3 separate regions of the Homo sapiens genome follow, and regions 2 and 3 are each linked to region 1. The links are contacts of gene promoters, found by promoter capture Hi-C in blood cells and fetal thymus (Javierre and others, 2016). All regions are on one chromosome and are shown on one strand. The core of a region is centred on a gene start or on the middle of the fragment in contact, and the rest is flanking DNA. Distances in the headings are between cores, read along the strand shown.

Region 1 (2,966 bases), core at 341-2,840:
ACTGCCACTAACACTGTAACGTGTCCTGGCTAAGGAGTGAAGGGTCGCTCACAAGTGGCTAAGTCAGGGGGCTTCTTTGGAAGCTGGAATTTGAAGCGGACCGGAAGGCATTCGTAAGATTCAGGTGATCAGATAAGAAAGCATAAACAAAAAAAGGTGAAAGCCTGAGGTTGGAAGGGGTGACCACAAGTCCTGGAAGGCCAGAAGGGGGACTTGTCACTTCTCCCCTGGCCGGCGGGGTCTAGCGGAGCCCCAACTAAGTTGATCTATTTCCGAGCCCCTCTTCTGCAATCTCTGCTCTCACCTTCACGGTCCGCGAGTCTGGGGCTCTGCAAGCCTCCAACACACCCTCCCTCCCTAAGGAATGTGGGCCCCGCTTTCTGGGCCTGCCAGACCGAGCGCCTACCGCTTCCTCCGCAGGCAGGAGCCGGGACGCTGCCTTCACCCCACCCTCCGCCAGGATCCAGTTTCAAAGTCACCTGAAAGCCATTTCCTTCCGCGCCTGCCCCGCCTCTCCCCTCCCAGTAGATCACCTGGAGCTTGCATTTGCCCAGAGCAGCATTTTGGGGCGGGCGCTTGTTTTGTTTTAAATGATACCTCTAGAAATCGTTTGCTGTACACCTGGATAACAAATATACCCCGTGGTTCTAATATCAGCGTCCTATTCCTCCTCCCAAGGAACTAGTGATAGCGCCTAACCAGTGGGCGTTGTTCCTCTTCCGGAGCCCCACTCTGGGCTTCCCTCCTCCGGGCTTGTTGTTCTTCAGGATCTTTACTGATGAATTATTATGGGTTTTTGGATTTATGCTCTTGCTCAAAATGTATTGAATGTCTCTGTCCCCCATCCTCACCCCTTGCCCCCCAGTTTCCAGGTGTGTACCTTTCCATGCATACACGGTCATATACAGAGACATAAAGACAAACGGTTCTCTTTGTTTTATAAAAACGGGTCCTCTATCATCCAGGTTTCTGTGTTTTATTTTTCCTATTTAACAGTTCCTTGTGGAGTTGCCTTCACGTTGTCTCCTTTATCTCTTTCCCGTCAGCTTCTCAGAGGTCTGCATTTACCACTGTAAAGCGTCACAGGGACCGAGTTATGGTGAGGAATTCAAGACATGCCTTTCTGACTTGGAAAAGCGGACACGGCCGGCTCTGGTAGGATTAGGATCCCCAGATCGATCCCGGCTGGTCACTCACTTGGGAAAGCCCTCAGCCCCCTTCGCAGGGCCCGGTGTTCCCTGTCCATACAAGGGGTACGTTCTGGCAGTCCATGCTGTCTCGGGAGGCGGTGATAGCAGGTCTGTGACACCAGGGTGACCCCACCACGTGCGTCTTGGTATCCTAGAGCATCTAGGCTGCCCGGGGGTGCGCGCTCATCACCCTGCGGGCGTTAATCGTTAACCGCGCCCAGGCCTCGCCGCCGCCGCAGCCTTACCCCGGCTCTGGCTCGCCGCGCCGCGAAGGTTGCCCCGGCCCCCGCAGAGCCGCCAATTGCTGGACTGCAGCCGCGAGCTGGAGTCTCCACCCACAGGAAAAATTCCTGGCCCGCCCCTCCCTCGCTCCCTCGCTCCCTCGCTCCCTCGCTCCCTCGCTCCCTCGCTCCCTCGCTCCCTCCTGCCCTCCCGCTGCAGCTCCGGCTCCGCTCGACTTCCTGCCGGGCGCTGGCAAGCCGCGCGCTGCCTGGGGTCTCCGGGGGCCGCGCTTGCAGCTGGCCGAGTCCGGGCCAGCTGAGGGGCTGGCGGTGGGCGGGAGCGGTCGGCGGCCTCAGCCCCTTCAGAGAGCGACTTTCAAACTCGCGCCCGCGTCGCGGCAGCACCTGGGCAGCCCCGCACGCCGTGCGCGTCCCGAGCCCGCGGGGCAGCTACCGCTCGGTGAGTGTCCCCTGATTCTCCTCTCTCCCCTCTTATCTCCCTGCATTAGGCTGAGCGGCGGTGCCGGCAGTCACGCTGGGGCCCCAGTCCCTTCGCGGCCCCCGTGCCAGCCCCCTGCGGGGTGAGGACCGGGGCGACCGAGGAGGGCCTGGAACTGTGTTGGCTGCTTCCCGGGCCACCCTGCCGCAGAGTGCGCGAGCGCAGGAGGGTCGTATGGGGAGACTTTTTCTGTCTTTTTTTCCCTCCACTCCGGAAACAAAAGGGGCAAATGCGCCGGGCGGCTCCAGAGAGGCTCAGTTTGAAATCCAGGAAGCCCGCGAGGCCGCGCGCGCCCGAGGGCTGGTGTTTGGCTGGAGCTGTGGGCCTGGCGGGTGGACCCTTCTGCGCGAGGACCCGAGCCTCGGCTCCTGCCAGCCCCGGAGGCGCCTGCAGCCTGTTCCGGGTTGGCGCCGCACGGTGCTCGCTGTTGGGAATCTCGGCTACCTGTCCGGCAGGGAGGAGAGTGGGGGCCAGAAGCGGGGAGCGGAAAGCCCGGCCACCAGCTGCCTCGACCTCGTCCACTCCTGAAGTCGGTTTGGTTCTTCGCACCCCTACACCCAGCCCTTTGGTTTGGAAAGCCAGTATAAGGCGTGCAAGCTTAAATTTTTAAGGCGTTAAATAGCTACTTTGACTCTTCGGGGCGCCTTTGGAACACAAAAGGAAGAACGGAGGGGAGAATGGAATGGTTGGAGGCTGGAGAGGTGTGGCTTTTGGGGAGGGTGTTGTTAGAGGCCGCGAAAGAGTTTGATCCTCGAGGTCACTCGCTAATCTGTTGGCATATGTAGGTGCCTGTCCCCTGCTCTGGGGGCCCCAGCAGGAGACCCACACTGCGTTCACCTTACGGGGAACCCTGGAGTGGGGGTTCCCAGAGTCTCCCCAGCCGTGCCTCTGCACGCAGCCCAGTCACATGGCCCTTGCTCAAGAAATAATAAGCAGGGAGGGCAATGACAGTCCGGAGCGGGGGAGGGCCTCCCCGTTGAGCACATCGGCCACCTCGCCTTCAGCAGTGTGGTTTTCCGGGCCATCCTTTGTTGGACAAGGATGGGATCCTGAGTG
Region 2 (2,966 bases), core at 204-2,703, 240 kb after region 1:
GGAGTCTCACTCTGTCGCCCAGGCTGGAGTGTAGTGGCGCCGCCATCTTGGCTCACTGCAGCCTCCACCTCCCGGGTTCAAATGAGTCTCTCACCTCAGCCTCCTGAGTAGCTGGGATTACAGGCGTGCGCCACCACACCTGGCTAATTTTTTGTATTTTTAGTACAGACAGAGTTTCATCATGTTGGCCAGGCTGGTCTCGAACTCCTGACCTCAAGTGATCCGCCTGTCTCGGCCTCTCAAAGTGCTGGGATTATAGGTGTGAGCCACCACACCCGGGCCATGAACTTTAAAAAGGAGGGAGAATCAGTCTAGCAAAGGATCAAACACCCGAGATGTTTGATGATCAGGAAAAAGATAAAGTGCTGTTTGTGTTCTCAGTAACTACACCCTCTATGCCCTTGCTATTGGTAAACATTAACTAAGCTGACTGCCCAGGAATTTCCCAAGGCACAAGTCAGATCTAGTTGGCCCAGTACCCACAGTGCTATTGATGCTTCCTGACTGTAATCCTCCTAACAGCCTCCCAATATCCCCAACCAAAGGGCTCATTGTCTTTTCCTCCTCTACCTCCCATTATCACTTTCTCTTTTTCCCCAGTTCTGAAGAAGAGCTGTAAAGGAATAATATAATTCACATTTCCCGTAACTGCACCTGCCACTGCAGACCTTGGCCAGCGCTTGCTTTCCTGTCAGTAATTAGGGCATCCCTTGATCCGTCAGATCCTCCCCTCCCAAAGCTTTGTGTGCTAGCAGCTCCTCTATCCCACCTGCAGTTTGTAGCTTCCCTCCGCCCTCTGTCAAAGAACACACACACAGGCTGGCCGTTTCCACACCTGCCCTTTATTGGTCTCTTCTAGCAGAGTGGCTCCAGGCCCTTCACGCCTCTCAGACACCACCCATGAGGGTTTAGGAAGGTGCCATCATTCTGTGAAGGCCCAGAGCTTACCCAAGTCTTGGAGCCCAAGTTGAATCACCAACCAGAGGGTTGGGAGAGGAAAAGGAAACAGGCAGAGGGGAAAGGCAAGGCTCTGCAGTGAAGGGGACTGATATCAAGGGAATGCTGAGGTCCAGCAGTGTCTCCTGAAGGCATGCTGCATCCTAAGGCTCCTCAGGACTGGATGGAGTAGGAGATCTGTGTGTTGAGCAGTTCACATCTATATGGCAACTTTAAGGAGGCGCTTGATGTCAGGCTCAATGTTGATGGTTGGGAAGGTGCGGCTGTAGCGTCGGAAGGGCTCTCCCTCCGGCCCTATGAGGAACTTCTCAAAGTTCCAGGCCACATCTGAGCGGCGCACAGGGCTCCAAATGATGAGCTTGGGATCGGTCATGAGGGAAAATGGGTCATCATAAGGGTAGGGGAGCTTGTCCTTCAGGTAGGCGAAGACAGGATGCTCGTTCTGCCCATTCACCTCACATTTTTGGACAAGGGTGAAGGTGGGCTGGTATCCACCCCCAGGACGGACATACTTGAGACTGTTCAGGATCTCCTCATTCTGACAGTTCTCCTAGGGGAGGAAAAAGACAAAGTGCGTGGACAGTGGGTGGGGGAAGAGAAAGATCCACAACATGAAACTCTTTCACCCTCCTACACTCCCTCCCCAGGGTCATTCTTTTTCACTGTGAAAGAGAGAGAGACAAGACAGACGAGGTGTTGCTCACTGCAGCCTTGAACTTCTGGGCTCAAGCATTCCTCCTGCTTCAGCCTCTTTAGTAGCTGAGACTACAGACACAGGCCACCATGCCCGGCTAATTTTTTTTTTTTTTTGTAGAGATGGGGTCTCACTTTGTTGCCCATGCTTTGGCTGCTCTTCAAGATTTAGCACTTCTGAGCTGTTGCTTTTGTCTCCAGTCTACCCTGAGCAGTTCTTAAGGTGTTTGAAGCAGAAGAAAGAGAAAAGAGGCTTAGGTTATACTGCTTAGAACCTCCTCTTCAACTAACCTACCGACCCACCTACCCATAAATCCATACCTACACACACACCCCTTTCCTTTCCTCTGCCCTGGTTTTGCCTCGCCTGCTTTCAATTGCACGTGTGTTGAGTATAGCCTTTGCCTCTGCCTACTCAGCTCCTTGAACTGAGGGTGAAATTGAGACCCAGAGGAATGGGATTTACAGCTTCTTGCTTTCTTCTTGCCTTGTCCTAGAACTGAAGTACAAATGGGAAGAAGCTTTGATGAAGGAAGACCCCCATCCAAGAACATCTAGTTTTCAGGTGCCATAACAGCAGAGCAAGTTCAAGGCAACAATGAATGTGTACTCTAAATGGAACTACTTAGTAACCAACAGGCATGAAGTAAATAGGATACAGGATTTAGGGTTTGGCAATAGGCCAGGGGGAGGGGGAGTTGAGGAAATAAGTGCTTGATGGCTAAAGATTGTGAGTATGTAATTATCATTCTTTTCTTGAGTAGGCTGCTACCCAAAGACTGCTGCACCTCCTATCCACTCACTGCTCTCAGCTACGCATGCTTTGGCTCAAAACCTGGTCCCTGCCTTTCCCTCCCCACTGCCATCCCTGTCCTATTCCCTCTCAGCATCACCATTCATGACAATCCAAAAGGCCTATGGGAACCCTTCTTTTCCACCTCTACCTTTCCAATTTAACAGACAGATACCTTCCTCTGGGAGAAAGTTCCTGCTTCTGACCTGTGAGAACTAACTAGTTCAGTCAGTTCCAGGCCATCATGACATCATGAGCCCAGAGCTGATCTCTAGTGGACTTCTCTGTTTTTGTTTCTGTTTTTTTTCCTGAGACAGGGCCTCACTCTGTCACCTAGGCTGGGGTGCGGTGGCACAATCATAGCTCACTGCAGCCTCGACTTCCCAGGCTCAGGCGATCCTGCTACTTCAGCGTCCCAAGTAGCTGTGACTACAGGCACATGCCACCATGCCTGGCTAATTTTTGCAATTTTTTGTAGAAACAAGGTTTCACCATGTTGCTCAGGCTAATCTTGAACTCCTGA
Region 3 (2,966 bases), core at 188-2,687, 190 kb after region 1:
AGGTAATCCACCTGCCTAGGCCTCCCAAAGTGCTGGGATTACAGGTGTGAGCCACCACGTCCAGCCTTAAAAGCAAATCTTAAAATGCAATGACCCCGGGAGGAGTTAGCTTTTAAGGTAGGATCTTTTGGCTATTGGCATAAGAAAAAAAAGTCAGTTCCACTTAGTGACATTTTAAGAGCCAAGAATTTTTTTTTTAAGATAGTAGCAGGGTAAACCAGAAAGATCACTAGATGTAAAGGCAAAATACCTGGATTCTACTTCCTCTTAACCTCTCTATATCTCAGCTTCTCTTCTGCGAAATGATGGCATTGAACTAGCTAGTCTCTAAGGATTCTTTTAGCTTTAGCTTTCTATGTTTTACACTTATGCTAAGAACATAGTAGATGTTCATTATAATAATGAAAAATTGGAAATCACTTCAATGTTCATCAAAATGGGATTGGTTAAACCAATTATGGTGTGAACGCATGCACACACACACACACACATAAATTCTATGTAGTCATTTAAGTGATGTGGTTTTATGCTTACTGATAGGGAAAGATGTCATGGCATACTGTTGATTTTTTTTAAGTAGGCTCTAAATAATTTCTATTTGATTAAGAAATAAGACATTTCATATCAGGAAAGATACTCCAAAAAATCTAAGTGATTTCTAGATGGTGAGATTTAGAGTAATTCTTACTTCCTTCTCTATTTTGCTATAAGGTTTGGGTATTTCATAAGCATAGAATATTTTATAATAAATAATAAAGTTGTTTTCAATGTGGGGGAAAATATAGTTAAATATAAATAGCAGATATGAGATCCTTACCTGCGAACAAGCTTTGATAGAGAGGATGGTGAGAACAAGAACAAAACAGCAGTGAACTAAAGGAAAACAAGGTCTGAATATTCTCATCAATAACTCAGATAATGAAATAACCGTGCCCCAAAGGTTAGAAAAAAAAAACTATTCTTTTTATACAAAACCGGCACAGCTGATCTGTTTTGCTCATTCAGGGATCTAATCAAAACCAGCACAGCTGATCTGTTTTGCTCATTCAGGGATCCCATCGCCAGTGTGGAAGATGGAGTTGCCTGACTCATGCTCAGCCCCTTACCAGTCCACCCCATGAGCAATGGGAAGACCTGTCGAGTCATCACACTGGCCATTAGACCAACCTGAGGCTATGGAAAGAAACAATCCTTACTTCGTTTTATGCTGCTATAACAGAATACTATGGATTGGGTAATTTATAATAAACAGAATTTATTTGGCTCATGGTTCTGGAGGCTGGGAAGTCCAAGATTATGGCACCAACATGTGGCGAAGGCCTTCTTGCTGCATCATCTCGTGGTGGAAAGGTGGAAGGGCAAGAGAGCGAACAAACGTGAGGGCAAAAGGTGCTGTTCTTATCAAACCCACTCTCCTGATAATGAATGCCCTCCTAAGATAATAACATGAATGCATTTATGGGGGCAGAGCCCTCATGACCTAATAACTCCCTCAAGATCCCACCTGTCTGGACGGATTGTTTGAGCTCAGGAATTCAAAACCAGCCTTGAGAACATGGCAAAACCCAGTCTCTACAAAAAAAAATTAAAAATTAGCTGGGCATGGTTGTACATGCCTGTAGTCCCAGCTACTCAGGAGGCTGGGGTGGGAGGATCACCTGAGCCTGGGAGGCCGAGGCTGCAGCAAGCCGAGATCACACCACTGCACTCCCACCTGGGCAACAGAGTAAGACTCTGTCTCGAAAAAAAAAAAAAAAAAAACCACCTGTCAACACTGCTGCATTGGGGATTAAGTCTCCAACACATGAACTTTGGGGAACACATTCAAACCATAGCAAACCCTAACCATTTTATGACAGGATTGATCTTATAACTTTGTTTTCTTTACTATTGTGCTTTAATTATTTGAGTTTCCTAAGGTTGCCTAATTAACCTTGATAACTATATTTATTACTCAAATAAACATCAAAAAATGCAGAACAAATTATAAGATAGGTTAACTATCAAGTGGGAATTCATACAAGATAAGTCAGCAAAAGAAGAAGAATAAGCTTTTTTTTTTCTTTTCTTTTCTTGAGAGACAGAGTCTTGTTATGTTACCCAGGCTGGTTTCAAACTCTTGAGCTCAAGGAATCCTGCCATCTCAACCTCCCAAGCAGCTAGGACTACAGGTGTGAGGCACTGCACACAGCTGAGAATAAGCTTCTTACATGCAAAATGGTGGCCTGGGTGCAGTGGCTCACACCTGTAATCCTAGCACTTCAGGAAGCCAAGGTGGTAGATCACTTGAGGTCAGGAGTTCAAGACCAGCCTGGCCAACATGGTGAAACCCTGTCTCTACATCTCTACTAAAAATACAAAATAAAATACGTGGTGGTGTGTGCCTATAATCCTGGCTGAGGTGGGAGAATCACTTGAACCCAGGATGCAGAGGTTGCAGTAAGCCGAGATCGTGCCACTGCACTCCAGCCTGGGCGAAGGAGTGAGACTCTAGCTCAAAAAAAAAAAAAAAAGCAAAATAGTGAATAAGTTTTGAAGTTGAAAATTGGTAGAAAAAAAAAATCTTGTGGGAAATCATAAAGACAGGTCACTACTGTGGTTGTTATCAGTCAAAAAGTGTGTGGCGTAGTTGCAACACCCAGTATGGGGATCTGGATCTCTATGTGGGATGGGCGATCTGAGTGTCCAAACGGGATCTAAACTTCTCTACTTGAGGAATCTTCCTGTTGCTGACTTAAATGATTGTTAGTAGTATATTATTTGCTTTTTGCCATTTGTATCATACCTTTCATACTCAAATTCCTTGACTCAATTTGGGAATCAATGGCTATAGAGGTTAACTAAGGAGTTAGCGAGTGCATAGAGAAGCTATGAAAATAGAGAATAGAGAAGCTATGAGAATAGAGAAGCTATGCTCACAAGGAAGAGAATTTCTGAGGTTTAGACTCAGAGCAGCTCAGGAAGTC

The links. Contacts are between HindIII fragments. The CHiCAGO score rates a contact against its expected background, and 5 or more counts as called.
Region 2: a contact is called between a fragment that was not itself captured here and the fragment with the promoter of PLEKHG3 in region 1, in 1 of 17 cell types (erythroblasts). The highest score is 5.1, in erythroblasts.
Region 3: a fragment that was not itself captured here is called in contact with the fragment with the promoter of PLEKHG3 in region 1 in 1 of 17 cell types (endothelial precursors); the score reaches 6.8 in endothelial precursors.

The regions. Positions count from the first base shown.
Region 1 is chr14:64,702,834-64,705,799 of GRCh38, forward strand. It overlaps PLEKHG3 (pleckstrin homology and RhoGEF domain containing G3), which reads left to right and starts at 1,591. Exons shown (of 17, transcript NM_001308147.2): 1 at 1,591-1,871. RefSeq lists an enhancer at 1-371. The HindIII fragment of the contact is 3,721 bases long and covers 1-2,505 here.
Region 2 is chr14:64,938,332-64,941,297 of GRCh38, forward strand. The region is part of intron 3 of CHURC1-FNTB (CHURC1-FNTB readthrough); the gene reads left to right. GPX2 (glutathione peroxidase 2) reads right to left here. Exons shown (of 2, transcript NM_002083.4): 2 at 827-1,507. The coding sequence ends at 1,157. Among named protein-coding and RNA genes, the nearest start is that of GPX2, 2.9 kb to the right of the region's middle. The HindIII fragment of the contact is 1,432 bases long and covers 738-2,169 here.
Region 3 is chr14:64,888,252-64,891,217 of GRCh38, forward strand. All of the region lies in intron 1 of LOC105370534 (a long non-coding RNA gene), which reads right to left. Among named protein-coding and RNA genes, the nearest start is that of SPTB, 9.8 kb to the left of the region's middle. The HindIII fragment of the contact is 1,223 bases long and covers 827-2,049 here.